Regions from separate parts of the Homo sapiens genome. Here regions 1, 2, 3, 4, 6 and 7 are each linked to region 5. The links are contacts of gene promoters, found by promoter capture Hi-C in blood cells and fetal thymus (Javierre and others, 2016). All regions are on one chromosome and are shown on one strand. Each heading gives the region's core, a stretch centred on a gene start or on the middle of the fragment in contact. The rest is flanking DNA. Distances are from core to core; before and after follow the strand shown. Region 1 overlaps PIP5K1B (phosphatidylinositol-4-phosphate 5-kinase type 1 beta). Region 2 has its middle 7.4 kb from the start of PRKACG. Region 3 overlaps PIP5K1B (phosphatidylinositol-4-phosphate 5-kinase type 1 beta). Region 4 overlaps TMEM252-DT (TMEM252 divergent transcript). Region 5 holds the start of PABIR1 (PP2A Aalpha (PPP2R1A) and B55A (PPP2R2A) interacting phosphatase regulator 1). Region 6 has its middle 6.9 kb from the start of TMEM252. Region 7 overlaps TMEM252-DT (TMEM252 divergent transcript).

Region 1 (2,700 bases), core at 93-2,592, 150 kb before region 5:
GACCACATAGCACCACAACAAAGAGTTCACTTTTGTCTCAAGTGGTGAGTTTCTTCCTTAAAGGAATGATCTCACTCAGCAGATAAGAGCTTGGATTTTGCAGAAATTTAATTCTCAGGATCTCTTTTGACTGGGTAACATTGAGAGCTGGTTTGGGTGGCTGGTTGCTTCCTTTTGTGTGGCAGAAACGCCTAGATTTGTCTTTGGCTCAACCATGGCTGGCAGTAGGTATCCTGTGTCCATTTCTAGCCTTGCATTCTGCCACTCGACTGCCTCCATGTTCACTTTTCAGCTCACCCTTCTGCCATATTGGAACCTACCATGTTCATTCTGCCCTTAGGCCTTTGCACATGCTGTTCTTTCTCCTTGAGATGCCCTTCCTGTCTCTCTTCTTAATGAACTCTGGGTTACATTTTCAGGATTTAGTTGAAATATCTTTTTCTCTGTGAGCTCTCTTTTGGAAGAATTGGTCTTTTTTTCTCTTATTTCTCTCCGCGTACCCATAGTAGCATATGCAGAAATATTAGCAATTGTTTCATTACAGATCTGTCACATGTTTCAATCTCCGGCTCAAAAGAGACTATTAAATTATTGAGGGAGGAACTAATCAATATTTAAAAAGCTTTCTATATCATCAGTGCTTAGTGTAGTGCTAGATACATAATAGGTGCACGAGTGTTTGTTCATGAATGCATTATTGTTCTGAAGTTTTAGAACAGTTAATTTTCTCTAACAAATTAATTTAACTCTTATATTCTATTCAGGAAACTAAGCTTTAGTACTTTAGACAAATTATTCGTATGGAGAATTTCAGTGAAGTTTCAACATAATGGTGGCTAATATTTCCAGGAAATATTATAGGATTTTGTAGACATTATTACACCGGCAGCATGACTCACTTGTGGGTGGGATGAAGGGATTTAAAAAGGTTAAAAAACACTGACTTCAAAAAAGAAACTTGAAGACCAGGTACTATTTTCTTGGTGGGAGGGGAGTATGCCTTTAGGCATTAAGGGCTTTAAATTAACCATGGTTGATGGAACATCTTAAAGTTAACTCAAGTGTCTACTTTTCTAATAATTTAATTACCCTTTGAAATGGTGGTGTTAGATAAAAATTCCATTCATTCATTGCATTATTCATCAAATAACCATTGAGTGTCTACTGTGTGCCAGGAAATGTGTTAAGTGAAAGTTAAGGACTTTGGGCACCAGGGAATCCATGGACGTTTATTTCCTTTAGCATTATTATTATTATTATTATTAGCATGGAAGGGTTTTAACAGAAATCAGCAAGAGCAGATTTATATTTTAAACTGATTCCTCTAGCTGCAGTGTGTGTGTGTGGAAATTGGATTGAATGGGTACATGATGGGAGGCAAAGAGACCTGTTTGGGGCCACAACTTTATGCAAAAAAAAAAATAATAATAAAACCTGCAAACCAAAAAACACAGTGGCTGAATCAGGAGAGGTACTGTGAGAGAAGGGGCTGCAATCCTGATACTGCAGAGTGAGGACTGATAGGTGTTGCTGAGTAACTGCACGTGGGTGGTAAGCAGAAGGAAGGGGTCAAGGGATGATGGCAGCATTCTGGCTGGGTAATTGGGTGGATTGTGGTGGTCTTCCATAAGACGTGGACCCAGGTAGAGAGGCAGACTCTGGGGTGGTAAGTGGCTAAATTCAATTTTGGGCATGCTGAGCTTGTGGAATCTAGTGGATGCTTAAGTTTGGGGAGTGGACAGGCAAGGGGAATTGCTAGAAGTGTGGGGAGTAAGTTGCAAGTACACAGATGGTAACTGAACCCTTGGGAGAACAGGGAATTACCCAGAGTGCTGTATAAGAAGAGACCGAGTCAGAGCCTGGACCCTGAGGAGCAACCACAATAAGAGTAAGCAGGGATGAAAAGCTTCCAAAGGATACCAAGGAGGAGAAGAGAGGCTGGAAGGCAACCAGGGAAGTCCTGAGTTACGAAAGACAAGCGAAGAGCGTTATTTCACAGAGAACTGCTATCAGTGGTCTCACATGCTGGAGAGTTTTAAGAAGACTGAAAGAGGCTGGGTGCGGTGGCTCACACCTGTAATCCCAGCACTTTGGGAGGCCAAGGTGGGTGGATCACTTGAGGTCAGGAGTTCAAGACCAGCCTGGCCAACATGGCAAAACCCTGTCTCTACTAAAAATACAAACATTAGCTGGGTGTGGTGGCGCATGCCTGTGGTCCCAGTTACTCTGGAGGCTGAGGCAGGAGAATCACTTGAACCTGGGAGGCAGAGGTTGCAGTGAGCTGAGATAGTGCCACTGTACTCCAGCCTGGGCAACAGAGTGAGACTCCATCTCAAAAAAACAAAAACAAAAACAAAAACAAAAAAAACTGAAAGTTGTTCAATGGCTTGAGCAATGATTGTTGATTACTTCAAAAAGAACATTTTGGTAGAGTGGTGGGATCAAAAGCCACTGGAGAACACTGAATAGTGACAAGAAATAAAAAAAGTGAGACAGCAAGTACATCCAACTCTCATCTCCAATAGGGTGACAGTGAAGGAGGAAAAAGATACACCAGGAACTGAAGAGAGACAGATCGTTGAGGAGGTTTGTTTCTATGATATATGAGAATGAGCAGATAGAAGGATGAGGTGTGGAGCCAGAAGAGGGAGTGAATGGTTAAAATTACCCTGTAGTGGAGATAATCTCTACAGGGATCTG
Region 2 (2,700 bases), core at 183-2,682, 240 kb before region 5:
GTGTGACAACTTGAAGGGCAGAGTGCTTGCAGGTCATAGGTGGATTCAACAATTTCCTGATTGGCAATTGGTTGAGAGTTAAGTTATTATCTGAAGACCTGGAAGCAATAGAAAGGAGTGTCTGGGTTAAGATAAGGGGTTGTGGAGACCAAGGTTCTTATTGTATAGATCAAGTCTCATAGGTAGCTTAGAGATTATAGATGCAAATATTTCCTATGCAGACCTTTAAAAGGTAGGTATTAGACTCTCAGTTAATCTCTTCAGGGATTTGGAGGGCCTGGAAAAGGAAAGATCCACTTATGTTAAAAGAGATTTTTGGGCCGGGCACAGTGGCTCATGCCTGTAATCCCAGCACTTTGGGAGGCCGAGGAAGGTGGATCACAAGGTCAGGAGATCAAGACCATCCTGGCTAACAGGGTGAAAACCCGCCTCTACTAAAAATACAAAAAAGAAAAAAAAATTAGCCGGGCGTGGTGGCATGCACCTGTAGTCCCACCTACTCGGGAGGCTGAGGCAGGAGAAGCGCTTGAACCTGGGAGGCAGAGGTTGCAGTGAGCCGAGATTGCGCCACTGCACTCCAACCTGGGCGACAAAGTGAGACTCTGTCTCAAAAAAAAAAAAAAAAGATTTTTTTACAGATGTAAATTCTCCCCCACAAAAGAAAGCTTTGCAGGGCCATTTCAAAATATAGCAAGGAAACATATTCTGGAACTAACTTTGGGAGGAACTTAGTTTATAGTTTAACTTTGAAACAAGGACGATAACAGCCCTTTCCCAAAACAAACCCCCTTCCTGCCTGGGGACTAGACTGCCTTTACAGAACCAACACATTAGCCACAAGATTAGAAATTATGGTTTAGGAGTCATGCAACTGAAGGCGGCCAGATTCTGAACCTCCCCAAATTGCTCCTGGGGATAACATCACTATTGTAAAATCTAAGATCAGGGCTTGAGATATTTTGCAGACCCTGCACTCAGTGGATCAGCTGGCACCACCCAGACCAATCAACTGGCTCATCTGATCTTGTGTACCCCCCAGCAGGAACTGACTCCGCACAAGAGGACACCTTTGATTCCCTGATTTCATCTCTGACCTGACCAATCAGCACTCCCGACTCACTGGCCTGTGCCCACCAAATTATCCTTAAATACTCTGATCCCCGATTCTTAGGGAGACTGATTTGAGTACTAATAAAACTCTAGTCTCCCATACATCTGGCTCTGTGTGAATTACTCTTTCTCTATTGCGATTCCCCTGTCTTGATAAATCGGCTCTGTCTAGGCATTGGGCAAGGTGATCCCATTGGGCGGTTACAAACTACAAAAGGGAGAGGGTATAATGAGGCATGTCTGACCCCTACCCCTTCCTGGAGTGGCCTGAACTAGTTTTGCAGGTTTCTTTGGACTCCCCTTGGCTAAGAGGGGGGTCCATTTAGTCAGTTGGGGGGCTTTGAATTTTAGTTTTGGTTTACAAACCCATCCATCATTGTTTTTGTTGTTGTTGTTGTTGTTGTGAGACGGAGTCTTGCTCTGTTTCCAGGCTGGAGTGCAGTGGCGCGATCTTGGCTCACTGCAACCTCCACCTCCTGGATTCAAGCAATTCTCCTGCCTTAGCCTCCGCAGTAGCTGGGACTACAGACGTGCACCACCACGCCCGGCTAATTTTTGTATTTTTAGTAGAGATGGGGTTTCACCATGTTGGCCAGGATGGTCTCGATCTCTTGACCTCATGATCTGCCCGCCTCAGCCTCCCAAAGTGCTGGAATTACAGGCATGAGCCACCACCGCGCCCGGCATCCATCCATCATTGTTTGTTGAGCGTCCACAGTTCCAGGCACTGTGGTTGCTGATGATATAGTGGTAACAAAGATTGATAATCAACATGTTCTCATGGAGCTCACAGTCTTGCGGAGAGAGATGATAACGTAAAAGTATTTACAAAGTCACATAAGTGCTAGATGGGGTAATTATAGGATACTACAGGAGCATATGAGAGTGGCCTGGTCTTGACTTGGTGGGGGTGGTGACAGCATGAGTTTCTGAGATCAGAGAGATGAAGAGTTGGCCAGGTGAAAGAGGGCAAGGAGGAAAGAGCATAGCAGAGGGGACAGTATGTACAGACCCAGAGGCCAGATGTCCTCATCTAGTACAGTGTTGGAGAGGCTGAAAAAGGGAGATTCTCAAACAGACTCAAGCTTGGATGCATTGGGCCCTAGCTCCTGGGGTTCTGCAGTTCTGAAAGGTCTGCAGTTTACCCCTAGGGTTGCAATCTTCTTATTCTTTTTTAACTCCAGGTTAGGCACTTCCATCCCTCACAGTTCAGGTTCAGCTCCAGCCCTCTTTGTCCCTTATAATGCATACAAACTCTTCAAATCTCCTGCATTTCCTGAATTATGGAACTGGTCACTGGATACCCCCTTTTCCTTGCTGTATTTGTATAGCTTTCTTTTGTCTTCAAGAGCTCTCTAATTATTAAGATAATTGAATTGGGACCTCTCACTTCTCAGCTCTTTGTTCTATAGGCTATAAAGCATTTTGGGGCTCCTTCTGGGAAAACATTAATCGATTTAAATCAAGGGCATGCACCCAAATGCTGCAGGGGCCAGGCAGGTGCCAGAAATGAGTGCCCTATGGAACACTTAGCCTTCCTGGGCTGCCTTTTTCTTTCTTGCTCTGCTGGAGACATGGCATAAGCACTAT
Region 3 (2,700 bases), core at 24-2,523, 200 kb before region 5:
AGGCCTGGGGAGCCATCTGCAATGTCCCAGGGCACATGCTGGTATAGTGCAGGCATGGGCCAGAGCACCTCCATCCTGGGGATGTCCTGCCCAGAGGTTACACACTGCTGTCCCACAAACCCAGTCTGGCTGGAAGAACTGTTTTGAAGAAGAGATCTGTTGGCCAGGTGTGGTGGCTCATGCCTGTAATCCCAGCACTTTGGGAGGCCGAGGCAGGTGGATCGCCTGAGGTCAGGAGTTCAAGACCATCCTGGCCAACATGGCAAAATCCTGTCTCTACTAAAAATACAAAAATTAGCCAGGCGTGGTGGTGGGAGCCTGTAATCCCAGTTACTTGGGAGGCTGAGGCAGGAGAATTGCTTGAATCCGGAAGACGGAGGTGGCAGTGAGCCGAGATCGCACCATTGCACTCCAGCCTGGGCGACAGAGTGAGACTCTGTCTCAAAAAAAAAAAAAAAGAAGAAGAGATTTTAGTTTGAATTATTGCCAAATTGAGGAAAAGGAAATTCCCACAAAAACCCAGTTTCTTTTGAGACATGAGAAGAGTGGCCAACTGTAAGCCTACATTTCTGAGTAGCAGTGAGATTGCAGCTGCCTTCCTTAGACCGAGCATGTCCTCTGCATTGCTGCAGGGTCCCCACCTCACTCGAGCATCCCACCCAGCCTGTTACACTCATACACGCAATCCCTCCCCATGTGTCTGCCCAACATCTCTACTTCCAGGATGAGGCCCAGGGAGGTGCAGCGGCTTGCCTGGGTTACATGGTCCCTAAACAGAGTTAGGATCTGAACTCTTTTCCAATTAACTACCCTTTTTTACAGTCATTGCTGCTAACATTTTAGAAATTTGTCATTGCAGAAACAAAAGTAGTGTACGCAAATGTGCCTAGGAGCTTGAAAATAATTACAGAATACCCACAAAAACAAATATGGTATATGATGTTTGGTGTTAGCTGTGGAGATCTTTGTTCTTTTGGGAAGAGTAACAATGAACAGAAAGTTTTGAGGAAAAGTAAGCAAAATATGCTTTCTAAAACAACATATTTAAAACAATGGATATTAAGATTGAACAATGAAAATAATGCTACTTAAGCTTCCAACAATTTAATATTTAAACCAAATTATACATATAAAAGAATTTGGGAGAATATACAGCCCTAAATGAATAATCAGGCATTTATACAGTAAAGTACCATTAAATGTATTCTGAATAATCTGAAATTATTATTGTCTTGGTATTGAGTGTAAGCTACATAACCAATTAATTAATCTTTCTATTTGTTATCCTCATTATGCAGGATCTACCAAGTGAGACCACAGCACAGAATGGCATGTTACTTGCCTAAAAATCTTAGATTAGATACTACCTAGCACCCAAAAAAGGATGAGAATACATTTTCAGGAAACAGGCACCTGAGCTGAGAAAGCATTAACAGGCAGAGCATAAGCTTTGGAATCAGATGAATCTGACTTTCAATTCTGGCTCTTGGACTTAGTTGTATGTGATACTGGGTAAGTTTCTTAACCCTTCTGAGTAAGAGCTCCAGTTTCCCATATGTAAAATGAGAATAATAATACAGAACGAGTAGGGTTGTTGGAGTGATTTGTGGTAATGAATGTAGGATGCAAATATTTAGTTATTTAATTTGTATTTTTTAGAGACAGGGTATTGCTCTGTCATCCAGGCTGGAGTGCAGTGTTGCAATCTTGGCTTGCTGCAGCCTTGGACTCCTGAGCTCAAATGATCCTCCTGCCTCAGCCCCCAAGTAGCTGGGACTAAAGGCATGTGCCACCATGCCTGGTGTTTCTTTTTAAAATTTTTTTGGTAGAGATGAGGTCTCCCTATATTGCCAAGGCTGGTGTCAAACTCCTGGGCTCAAGTTATCATCCCAAAGGCCAAGAGTTTAAGAGTCTGGCTGCCTGCCGATGTGCTGCACCATTAAGTTTTGCCACAGTTCTCTCGATTCAGACTGTCTGAGGGCTAATTGCACACAATTTGCAACAAGCCACACAGGCCTGTAATGCACTGCCATTACAGGCATGAGCTACTACTGCTCCCAGCTGCAAATAGTTATTGAGTATCCATGTATGCACACTGCACCTAGAATGGATTCTAGCACCTAGAATACAGAGATCAAATTTTAAAAGTCTGTGCCTGATGGAACTTACATAGTATTAAAGAAGACAGACAATGAGATAAGTATTTAAAATATGTATTATGTTGGTCAAAAGTGCTAAGGAGAAAAAAAAAACACACACACAGAAAAAAGATAGGAAGTGAGTAGCAGAAGCCAACTCCAAACAGCAAACTCTCCTTGCTCTGCCATCATAGGATCTCAGGCATGAGCCACATCCTCCACAGGACACTTATCAAGCCCTCCCAAGTGTCCCTGGGTGGGGACAGACACCTCTGATCAACAGTTCTCTCTAAAGATCACATTCTAACTGCCACTCTTTTCTTGGCCTCAATAACCTCTTTTAAAGGCTGGAGGTGGGTAGTCAGCTGAGGGCTGTAGAGCTGATTTTCTGCCATTCAAAAACCAGTTTTGACCTTTGCAAGTGCTATAGTCTCACATTTACTTTTGTTTTGGGCCTCAGCCAAAACAGATACTAAAAATATTTCAGTTTAACACTGTCACATTATTTTTAGCAAAGAGAGATTAGTAAAGGTTATATGCACTACTGAAGAGAAAGGTGTAA
Region 4 (2,700 bases), core at 71-2,570, 230 kb after region 5:
CTTGAGATTCCCCAAATGATCCATGTGGCCATGTGTGAGAAGCCCTGGCCTAGATGGCAAGGGGGCCCATGGTGTCTGCTATGTTGACTCAGGTCACCCTGCTGTTTGTCCATTCCTTCTCCCACTTGTACTTCCATCACAAATCCCACAGCACCACACATGCTTTGCAAGGTTTTGCTCCATTAACAAGTCCTCTTTCATTTTCCACAGAAGGAGGCAGAACAGAGTCTTAGTGTAAAGGCAGCAACCTTCCAGCTGTGACTAGCCCAAGCCATCAGCATTGTTCCTTTCAATTACCCTGTTCCTGGGAGGCATGAAATTCTAGCTAAGGGCTGACAGGGTCACTTGGCTGCTGAAAAGTTCTGTATTTAACAACTCTAGGTGGGGTTTGGGGTTTTGTTGGCTTGTTTTTAATTTTTTTTTTTTATTTTTTAGTATAGCTGCTTTTACTTAGTGCACAAGATTGCATGCTCTAGATTAGAACTTCTATACACAGGGACTGTGAGGCAACCCTCACCCTGAGGCCCCAGAAAATATTAAGTATTAGAATAAGCTCGCATGCAGCAAGTTCTCTCCAGTGTTTGAGGCTCTGAGGCTTAAAGAGACAAACAGAGAGCCTAGGAAATTTTCAGAGAAGAACAAATTTGCTTAAAGAATGGGAGGACCAAACCTAAGAGGGAATGTTAAAATCATTCACATACCTGAGGCTCAAGAAAGGAAGAAAGAGAAGTAATTAAACATGTAGAATTAGATAACATTTTACTGAGGCATCACCCAACCAGTTCTCTTCAGTAATATATGCTCTTTCTTTATTTAAAAAAATCAGTTGTGCATACTCAGAATTTGATAAATTATGAAAGGATTAATATATAATGCCTTCCTTGACTTTCTTCCTACCCATACATTCATTCATATTTATTGATTACCTGTTATGTACCAGATACTCTGTTCTGACAATCTTGTTATTTTACTCTACTTAACATGAGAATATATTCTTCTAAAAAAACATAAATGTGTCAAGATGGAAACATTAATCAATTTGAGACAAGAACATTTCTGATTTAGCTCTAATAAAATGTAGCAATTTCAATATAAAGGGCACTGTTTCCTTGTGTGGCATTCAGACTTTTATACTCTGTCCCCAGATGACTTTTCAGTCTCTCGTTTCATTCCTAGTCTCATTTACCTGCTGGTCCTGTCCCATCAGTCTACTCATCTTTGCCTTGAACTCACCAGACCCTTTCATGCAGTTCCCTTAGTTTAAGTACTTTTCTCCCTAAAATACCTTTTGATGCTTTAAAACCCTTTAAACTTTAGGAATGCATCTGTAGTATTCTCTGCAAAGGATTCTGGAGTCTCACCATTTTAAATTAATCATTCTTTCCTCTGTCTTCCTTGAACATGGTGCTTTTACTACAGTTGCACTCTTACCTGCTTTGCATTGTGGTTGCTTGTTTGCATGGCTCACGGTAAGTTTTCAAAGGACAAAGAGCATAACTCATTCTTTGTGTTCCCTCCAGCACTTAGTTACATTCCTGGTGAGGTAGAATTAATGGTGCCCACCAAATATTTCTAGCTATTTGAATCTTCTGGGCCTACAGTAGATTTACACTTCTTGGTCCCCTGTGGTTGGTTGGGGACATGTGACCAGTTATTGCTAATGAGTTATAACAAAGCGATGTGTGAAACCTGTGGGCCAAAATTTTAATTGTCAATGCAAGACCCTTCAGTGTCATCTGTTCTCTTGGCTATTGTGACTATTTGTGTTTAGGAAAATAGCTACTCCCTCAGCTGCATCCTAAAGTGAAGAAAAGGTCAACTTAGAGCAAAGATTTAGCTGACCTATGATGGACTCTGTGAGAGAACAAGGAATACATTTTTGTCATTTAAAACCATGGAGATATGAGGTTGTTTGCTACAAAGCAAATCCTAGCCCATCCTGATTCATACACTTGTAAATGACAGGTGTTTGATAAATACTGTGAATCTAAAATATTTTGCAAATCTATTAGAAGTAGCAATTAATAATTTTATCATCAATTGTAAATGTATTACGTAAAATTGCAAATGTTAAAATCAGCTGTGCAGAGAGACATTGTGATGTAAGGTGAAGAGTGTAGGACATAGAGCCAGTAGGGATGGGTTTGTAAAGTGGCTCTAAATGACCTCGAGGAGGTCACTGATACTCTTAGGACTCAGCATCCTTCAGTCTTAAAGGGAACTTACCTACACTGCAATATTGTTGTGATAATTAAAGATAGCAAAAGTAAAATTGCCTGGTACATGTTGGTACTTGGTACATAATTATTATGATTGTTTTAGGTGTATTTTTCATATTGGACCATGTGAAAAGTGAAAAACACGAGAAACTGTACATAGTTCAGTTTAAACCAAGATATACCCTGCTATTCTTTCCTATAGATCAGCAGCAATTTTCTCCCTCCTTCCTTCTTCTACCCATTTTTCAAAAACTAAAAAATGTGGGCCCCTATTGATTTTTAAAAAGATAATGAACATTATATATGTATATGAAGGTACAATAATTTATGTCTAAGTCTCATTCAGAGAAAAAAATATTGGTCATGAATTATTCAGCTTCTTCTTGGGCTAGGCATTAGTGACTCACATTAAATAAACAGATGCATTGAAAAAAAAAAAAAGAAAGAGAAAAAAATAAGACCCAGGATTTATTTTTAAGCT
Region 5 (2,700 bases), core at 29-2,528:
TAAATAAATAGAGCTCTCAGTTATTTAAAAAAATCAAGGGATAACATATGTATTTAGACATATTAGCAGCGTAAAGATGTATGCTTCAACACACTTATTGGGGAAACGTCTGAAAATATTACTACACTGAATTCAAGGGTATCCAAAGGAACCTGACATAGAAGTTCTCTAGAATAACATCATTTCAGGGAATTTCAAAAAAGAAAAGGGGTCAAATAGGAAATAGCCTCAAATTAATTGACAAAGTTCAGTGTTTGCCCCAACTAGATTATTCTCTCTCTCCACTGCAAAAAGAAAGTCTCAGGATGAGTGAATCACTTAGACGAAAGTTCATCTAGTGGAATAAATGGAGAAGCCGCTTGGGCAGGTGACACAGGAGAGTCGGTGGTAGTGCTGACTTTCGCTGGTGAGTTACAAGAAGATCCGGCACTGCTGCTGTTTCCATCAAGGGTATCCGAAGATACACACACACCAGGATCTGACAGCTGTGCAACGTCAGAAGAAAGCATGTTGGTGATGCCCTGGAAAAATCTCTTTGGCTGATATTCAGTTTCCATTTCACATTTTCTTTTCAATGGTCCAAGAACACTTGGTCTAATGCAATTGATGGGGCTCTGGCTTCTCCGGGTGGTAAATCGGGTCGTTGGGCTGGGAATAGGGCTTGGAGGCAATCCGTTGCTACTTACAAAACTTTGCAAGGATGGCGAAAAACACTGCTTCCCAATTCCCCGAGTGGGTGACGGTGCTGGTGACACAGGAATGAAATCGATGCGCTTGGGGGAGGCGGATTTCTCCACGTCGTTGTCACTCAGGCTGAAACTTTCCTCCCAGGAGTGGCTTATCTGCATTGCGGTCTGCACCTCCCGTTCGTGGACCGTCTCTCGGTTGATCAAGTCCATGCCCTCTTCTTGTTTGATCTGGTGCAAGCGGCTGCTGTGCATGCGGACAGGGGAGGCCGGCAGCAGCAGGCCGTGGCGGCTCGGGAACGTTGTGCTGTTCCGCCTGGCGCTCGGCGCCTCGGCCTGGAACACCGGCGAAGTGTCACTGAGGCCGTGGATCAGGGGGGCGCTGTTAGACCTCCTGAGGCCCCCGCCGCCGCCGCTGCCACCGCCCTCCGCCGGGCTCCCGCCCGTACCCGGAGGCAGCTCCAGGTCTAGCTCCATCTTCTCCTGAGCCATGTCGGGGGCAGGGAGGCGGGGGAGGTGCTCAGTCAGGGACCTAGGATTCCCATTCCCCGCAGTCCAGGGCCGCCGCCGCTGCCGCCGCCACCGAGAATCTGTCAGCGGGCTGGCCCCTCTGCGCATGCGTAGCCCTTCGCGCAGGCGCTCGCGATGTCCGTACTCGCGGCGCCTGCTTAATGCGTAATATGTGCGCGGCAGTGGTAGGGGAGGGGCGAGGAGTGGTCGGGCCGCTAGTCCGTATATTCCTTCGGCAAATAGCTATTGAGCGCAAGCTCGCGTTGACGCATGTCAATAAGATTGTCATATTCTGGATTGCATACTCATAAAACAAAGCCCTGAAAGAGAGGCCCATGGTGATGTGGGGCTGTATGACGTGGAGTGGCGCTTGGCCTAATCAGGGAGGGCTTCCTCGAGGAAGGAACAATCTCCTGAAATCTGAAGAAGTGGGCGAAATGGGTGCGATGTAGAACTTTGCAGGAAGCGGGAAGCAACGGCTACCCAGCCAGTTGGCAGGCGGGAACCAGGAGGGGAGGAGAAAGTGTGGCCTGGAGTGGAGAGTGAGGGCTGGCCTGACGTGAGGTGGTGGACCAGACCACATTCTGGTCTTTATCTTGAGAACAATGAAAACTTAAAGGGTTTTCAAGCATGGGTGTAACAGCAACTGAAAAGCTCACTGGCCTGCAGTCTGGAGAATACATATTGGGAGATTAAAACCTTACAGAAAAAAGGCCAGAGAGGATGGTCATTTGCACTAAGGTGACAGTGTGGCAGTGGAGATGGAGAGAAAAGTAAATCTGAGAACTATTTAGGTTAGGGGAAGAAGCCAAAACAGAGGATGGTATTGCTATTGATTTACAGTCATAGTTCCAGCACAAGCATATGTGTGAAGTATGAAGGATTAAACCAGTAGGTCCTCACATTTTAAAAATGAAACCACAATTCTTGGCTCATGTAATTAATATAAAACCTTGATATCTCATTAAAAGTGAGTTTATTTGTTCATTTATTCAGTCAGTCAAGGTTTTTTTTTTTCAGCATACTTACTATGTGCCAAACACTGCTAGGAAATGGGCCCTAGTATGAACTTTTAATTCTTACTGAGGGGAAAATAGAGAAACGCAGGCTATTTTCAGATAGTGGTAAGCCTTAGGAAAAGTAAGATGGTGTGATGGAGCACTACTGATAGAAGTCAGGGGACAATTAGAGTTGAGATCTAAATGACAAGAAGCAGTAAGTCACGTGGACATCTGGGGAATGAGTATTCCAAGCAGAGAGAATAGCAAGTGCTAAGGCCGGAGGCAGCCATGAGTTTGATGAGTTAGCAGAAAAAGAAAAAAGGGCAGTGCCGCTGAAGCATAAGAGCGGGAGTGTTAGGAGAGGGTAAGAGTTGGATCTCATTCTGAATATGATGAAACGCCACTGGAGGGTTTTAAGCAGGGGACTGATATTATCTGGTTTATGTTTTAAATATCACTTAGGCTCTGTGGAAAACAGGCTGAAAGAAGACCAGAGTGGAGGC
Region 6 (2,700 bases), core at 51-2,550, 250 kb after region 5:
TCTGTTATTTGAATCCTTGGCATTGAGGGCATAAAGATATGAAGGTCACTCATGGTTGTCCAATAGGGAAGTGATCATTTATTAGTAATGTAATTTATTATTCCTCTTGTCATCTCTTTCTATCTCTCTACTAAGACAGTTATCCTGAAATTCTCCCTGGTGGTCTGAGCACATTTACTGACTTGAACAAGGACCATCATTGGTCTTTTGTCCAGAATTTGCATTTGTAATAGATAGTTTTTCCAACTACTGGTAGTCAAGTGAAACAAATGTTGATTTTGGTTTACATAAGAAATAGTTTTAATCTCTTTACCGCAATAAATTTTGTACTTAAATTTCTCTTTTGCCATTTTTTTTTTGCATCAGAAAAAAAAATCAATAAAAGACCATAAGTCAAAGTATTATTCTCTGGTTAAACTAACACAGTGTCAGAATGAGTTGATCTTTCTGCAAACCCAAACATTATTGAACTCTAACTGCTGATTTGGAAAATAACTTGGGTGTGTCTTTTTGAAAATAAAATACCAGTAGTTATTTGTTCATTTTTTTAACATTTCATGTAAGGCAGAAATAATATCTTGGCAATGTGAATCAGAGCAGTTTCCAGCGACTGCATATGTACTCTGAATCATGTGTCGAGAACAAGGGTAGGACACAAAGCAAATTCTACATTCGAGAGACCCAGCAATTAAAATCCACTGGACAAATCAGACAAAAATATCCGATTGTGGTTCATAATAATAATATAGTAGTCATCCCCTAGAGGATTCACTCAAGATAAATAGATACTGCCTCTGCTCTTCCTTCTGAAGCTTATAAAATTTACGGTCAAGGATTGGAAACAGCAATTCCATGAATGACAGGGAGAGCACATGCAGCATAAGAAAGTGAAAAGAGAAAAATCCCCACTACAAAGAGTCTTTGCTCATTCTCTTCTCTCACCTGTGGATGGTAGGTTCATATGTCAATGGGGAAGGGAAGTTCTCAGGGTTGAAGGCCCTCCAGTATTGTAATCTCATAATGTCCCTTTGAGCAGAAAGTTTGAGTAGGCCTTACCACCACTCCAGAAGGTGAGGATAAGGTCAGTTATCCTCAATTATAGATTAAGTTATACTGTGTCTTTTGCATATCTGAGATGTACTGTGTTCATTTTCGACCCTCCATGCAAAATCTTACCAGTGCTTTTACTGACACTCCTGTCTATCATTTAAGATTCTATTTAAATATACTGTCTTTGGTGAGGCATTGCTCTAGCTCACCTACATTGTAGGGCACATATTAGGTGCAGATAGGCATGGAAAGATGATAAAGACATGGACTTATAATCTATATCTTCTCCAAATTCTACAAGGTTCCATGACAACCTAGGCTGACTCACATACCAAGTGGGCTGTCAGCTGCATGAGCTATTTCTTCTAGTAAGGACTCCAGCTGGTTGGAGTGGAACAGGCATTCTGCTAAGCTCTGCTGCTTCGGATAATCTCTTGCTGTTTGTAACTGTCAAAGGGCCAAAGGCTGATTTACTGGCAGTTACGTTATTTCCAAAGGCACACCGTTTCTCAGACCCTTCTACACTCAGGGATGGGAAGCTCCTTAAGACATGTGTCTGGGATTTCAGTGTCCACATGTTTTGAGAGTATCCAGTGCATGATCCAGCAATGGAATGGAGTCACACAGTTATGTCATTACCAGCTCCTGCAGGTGCTTTTCAAATTCCCTACACCCATCTGAACGTCAAAGTAAATCCCATGCCTTACACTGATCCATGAGACCGTGCATCAAGCTTCGACTTCCTGTGCAGAAAGCCTGCATGCCACGTGCAAGCCCTTCCACCTATAACGTCATGCAACACGATTTGTCCCGCAAATACTGCGGATGTATGCTGCACTTAGATCAGTAAAAGTTGACAAACGATCTCATTTTAATAATGACTGCCTATCCATTTTCAAGGACATTGAATAAACTCAAGATTCCTGGGTGACACAAAACAAATTTTTGTTCTGGGGGACTGGCTGACACCTGGAAGGATATTTAGCGTGTTTGGTTTCCTACTACTGCCACTAAATGCCTCTCTGGCAAATACACACACATTTCCAAATACCCGCCCTGGTTGAAAACCAGCATGTGATGTATAGTGTTGCTTGCCATTTTTCTGCAGACACGTGCTGTAATGAGTGAACCCCTCTGTAACAGCAGATCACCAGAGTTGCCCTGGAAGTTGCCACACTCTATCCATAGTTTCCTCTGATTGACTCTTGCAGTTCCCATGAAATTTGGGGCCTTTAAAGTCATTTCCTGTTTTTTTTTTTTTTTTTTTTTTTTGAGACGGAGTCTCACATTGTCACCTTGGCTGGAGTGCAATGGCATGATCTCGGCTCACTGCCGTCTCCCGAGTTCACGCAATTCTCCTGCCTCAGCCTCCTGAGTAGCTGGGATTACAGGCACACACCACCACACTCAGTTAATTTTTTGTATTTTTAGTAGAGACAGAGTTTCACTATGTTGGCCAGACTGGTCTCAAACTCCTGACCTCGTGATCCGCCTGCCTCGGCCTCCCAAAGTGATGGGATTACAGGCACGAGCCACTGCGCCCGGTCAAGTCATTTACTCTCAAAGATCAGTGGCTACAGTGGCTACAGCTCTTTTTTTTTTTTTTTTTTTTTTTTAATAGAGTCTTGCTGTTGCCCATGCTGGAGTGCA
Region 7 (2,700 bases), core at 32-2,531, 140 kb after region 5:
AAGGACCCATATAGGGCAAGTTCCAGATACAGAAGGAACTGGTCTTCGCCTCCTTCTGGTTCTGGTGTTCTCTTTGACCACCCTTTTCTATTTCCAATTATTTTTCTCTGAATTTAGTTTTTGCAAGTGGAAGATACAGAAGCTTTATGAGCAGAATAAAACAACCAGGGTTGGCAGCCTTGCTCTCAACCCTCTAGCTGTGTGTGATCTTTGAGGAGGATGATAGCAAACCTTGGTTCAGCATGTCTTGTGTGCTAGGTGATGTGTTAGATGATGTGCCAGGCATTGGGTGTGTGTTAAGTCATTGCATCTTCACAAGTAAGGTGGGTCATTACCTATTACCACTGCCCTTTTGTGACAAAACAGAGGCTTAGTGAGATTAAGTAATTTGTCTAAAGTCACACTGCTGGTCAATAGCAGAGCTGGGACCCCAGCACAGATGATGTGACCTCCAAGTCTGCTCTTAGCCCATGCATTACTACTTCCCAAGTCACTGGACTTCTTGGAGCTCCAGTTTCCTCATTTGCAAAGCATTCATAAATATTTAATGAATATTAAATAAATATAACAAAATATTCATAAATATTCATACTGTCTCCTATGGTAGAGAGTAGGGAGAAGTAATGTGATAATGTAAGTAAAACATCTAGCCTGTCCTTGGACATACTGAGTATTCAGAAGAAGCATCATTATTAGTTTTTGCCATTCAAAAACAGTGAATGCTGAAATTGGCTCTGTCTTGGTTTATGGCTTTACACTTCTTTGAGGATTCTGTAGACACTCTGGAAGCACGGAGGACACTTAACATATTCTCGTATCTTTCTCAACCTCTGTGATTTTTTTTTTGAGACAGAGTCTCACTCTGTCACCAGGCTGGAGTGCAGTAGCGTGATCTCAGTCCACTACAACCTTTGCCTCCTGGGTTCAAGCGACTCTCCTACCTCAGCCTCCTGAGTAGCTGGGATTACAGGCATGCGCCACCGCGCCCAGCCAATTTTTGTATTTTTAGTAGAGATGGAGTTTCACCATGTTTGCCAAGCTGGTCTCAATCTCTTGACCTTGTGATCTGCCTGCCTCAGCCTCTCAAAGTGCTGGCATTGCAGGTGTGAGCTACCATGCCCGGTCAGTGATTTTTTTTTTTTTTTTTAATGACACACAACTATTTTTTAACTTCTCTTTCTCTTTCTCTTTTTCTATTTGTCTTTTGCATAGCTTTTCAGATCTCACTGAAGGTGAAACCAGGAAAGTACTTCACTCAGAGGTGAGTGTATAGGTAATAAATATGTGGAACAAGACTCTATTGTCCTCAGGTAAAGGTGGGTGACCCTAGGTGCCCTTAGGTAAGCCATTAAAAACTGTTCTACCAAATACTCACATACTGGGCAGGTGTTTGAGCAGGTGTGGCAGCCTTGGGGCAGATGCCGAATGTGGCACACAAGAGGTTAGTGGATATAGTTACACCTTCATAAAACAAATGCTATCTCCCCTGCCGGGTCTTAGCTACAGAGGCGAAAAATGAATATTTTAATTAGTTTCAGCTTCCAAAAGAGTCGTAGGCCAGACTTCCGAATCTGCCTCCTATAGGGAAAACACTTTCAAATTCTACCACTTGGCAAAAAATCCCTCCCAAATAAAACCCCAAAACAAAAATTACATTTCTAACTAAACAAGTAACTGTGCTTCTTAGACAGACAGCTTCATTACGCATTCAGCAGCTTGGATTGACACAATCTTGGGCAAAAGGGGAAGAGGCAAGAGGTGAAGCTGAGCTGTGTTTGGAAGTACAGCTCATAAGGATGGCAGAGAGATTGGAAGGGGTGGGGAAAAATCAAAGCTGATTCCTATTTTTTTCTCCCTGAGCAACTTGTTAGATTATTTAGGTCAATGATGCTTTTAGGAATTAAAATTTTGCATTTTAATATCAGTTTCACTTTTTCAAAGAGCTTTCGTCTCTCCACCCCTGTTGACATAAATGATCACACTGAGTTTTATCTAGGTTAGTTTTAGAAGAGACTAAGTTCAGGGATTTCTGAGATAAAGAGAGGAATTTTATTTTATTTCTTTGCCTCAGGTAGCATTCAATATATAAATATTTCTCTTCATTAAATCCTAATCAAGTTTAACTAAACTTTCAAGACAGATGGGGAGATGTTATTTTAATTATAAAAGGTATCCACACAAACTTCTTTAAAGCAGTGGAGTTTTTTTGGTATTCATTTATGTATTCAACAGATATCTTTGAGCTCTGACAATGTCCAAACACTGTACTGAGTGCTCCACGCACAGTGCTGCAGTGAGCAGCCTCTGGAGATGTGTGTGAAACATGCAGATATGGTTCTGAATCATGATAGATAGAAGGAGCGGGAATAATGGTAGGTGGAGAAAAGCCCCTTTGTTTTGGGTGGTCAGTCAAAGCTTCTATGAGGGAAGAATATTTATGCCAAGACTTGGCAGATACCAGGGACCCAGTTGGGTAAAGAATGAAGCAAAGAGAAGAGAGGAGAGCAGGAATGCATTTCTGGAATAAGGAACAGCATTTGCAAAATTCTGGAGGTGTAAAAAGTTTGGCAAGTTTGAGAAACAAGCAGTGGGGCTGGAGCGTAGGGAATCGGGGGAGAGGCTGAAGAGCTGAAGATGAGGTGGAAGTGGGGCTACATTGACATGACCTACTGAGAGACAATCACTTGACAGAGGATGAAG

The links. Contacts are between HindIII fragments. The CHiCAGO score rates a contact against its expected background, and 5 or more counts as called.
Region 1: a contact is called between a fragment that was not itself captured here and the fragment with the promoter of PABIR1 in region 5, in 12 of 17 cell types (naive CD4 T cells, naive B cells, monocytes and 9 more). The highest score is 9.5, in naive CD4 T cells.
Region 2: a contact is called between a fragment that was not itself captured here and the fragment with the promoter of PABIR1 in region 5, in 12 of 17 cell types (megakaryocytes, naive CD4 T cells, erythroblasts and 9 more). The highest score is 15.4, in megakaryocytes.
Region 3: a contact is called between a fragment that was not itself captured here and the fragment with the promoter of PABIR1 in region 5, in 16 of 17 cell types (neutrophils, megakaryocytes, activated CD4 T cells and 13 more). The highest score is 14.1, in neutrophils.
Region 4: a contact is called between a fragment that was not itself captured here and the fragment with the promoter of PABIR1 in region 5, in 3 of 17 cell types (total B cells, neutrophils and naive B cells). The highest score is 9.1, in total B cells.
Region 6: a fragment that was not itself captured here is called in contact with the fragment with the promoter of PABIR1 in region 5 in 3 of 17 cell types (total B cells, neutrophils and naive B cells); the score reaches 6.5 in total B cells.
Region 7: a fragment that was not itself captured here is called in contact with the fragment with the promoter of PABIR1 in region 5 in 2 of 17 cell types (naive B cells and total B cells); the score reaches 12.8 in naive B cells.

The regions. Positions count from the first base shown.
Region 1 is chr9:68,929,322-68,932,021 of GRCh38, reverse strand. All of the region lies in intron 12 of PIP5K1B (phosphatidylinositol-4-phosphate 5-kinase type 1 beta), which reads right to left. Among named protein-coding and RNA genes, the nearest start is that of PRKACG, 83 kb to the left of the region's middle. The HindIII fragment of the contact is 1,133 bases long and covers 776-1,908 here.
Region 2 is chr9:69,020,118-69,022,817 of GRCh38, reverse strand. No RefSeq gene overlaps it. Among named protein-coding and RNA genes, the nearest start is that of PRKACG, 7.4 kb to the right of the region's middle. RefSeq lists a cis regulatory region at 1,747-2,252. The HindIII fragment of the contact is 1,530 bases long and covers 668-2,197 here.
Region 3 is chr9:68,983,013-68,985,712 of GRCh38, reverse strand. All of the region lies in intron 14 of PIP5K1B (phosphatidylinositol-4-phosphate 5-kinase type 1 beta), which reads right to left. Among named protein-coding and RNA genes, the nearest start is that of PRKACG, 30 kb to the left of the region's middle. The HindIII fragment of the contact is 355 bases long and covers 1,096-1,450 here.
Region 4 is chr9:68,553,205-68,555,904 of GRCh38, reverse strand. All of the region lies in intron 2 of TMEM252-DT (TMEM252 divergent transcript), which reads right to left. Among named protein-coding and RNA genes, the nearest start is that of LINC01506, 8.0 kb to the right of the region's middle. The HindIII fragment of the contact is 2,760 bases long and covers 1-2,700 here.
Region 5 is chr9:68,778,643-68,781,342 of GRCh38, reverse strand. It overlaps PABIR1 (PP2A Aalpha (PPP2R1A) and B55A (PPP2R2A) interacting phosphatase regulator 1), which reads right to left and starts at 1,278. Exons shown (of 1, transcript NM_138333.5): 1 at 1-1,278. The coding sequence starts at 1,178. The coding sequence ends at 315. The region is part of intron 2 of PIP5K1B (phosphatidylinositol-4-phosphate 5-kinase type 1 beta); the gene reads right to left. RefSeq lists silencers at 1,018-1,257, 1,375-1,789 and an enhancer at 542-1,370. The HindIII fragment of the contact is 10,001 bases long and covers 1-2,700 here.
Region 6 is chr9:68,532,659-68,535,358 of GRCh38, reverse strand. No RefSeq gene overlaps it. Among named protein-coding and RNA genes, the nearest start is that of TMEM252, 6.9 kb to the left of the region's middle. The HindIII fragment of the contact is 971 bases long and covers 815-1,785 here.
Region 7 is chr9:68,635,844-68,638,543 of GRCh38, reverse strand. All of the region lies in intron 4 of TMEM252-DT (TMEM252 divergent transcript), which reads right to left. Among named protein-coding and RNA genes, the nearest start is that of PIP5K1B, 68 kb to the left of the region's middle. The HindIII fragment of the contact is 2,273 bases long and covers 145-2,417 here.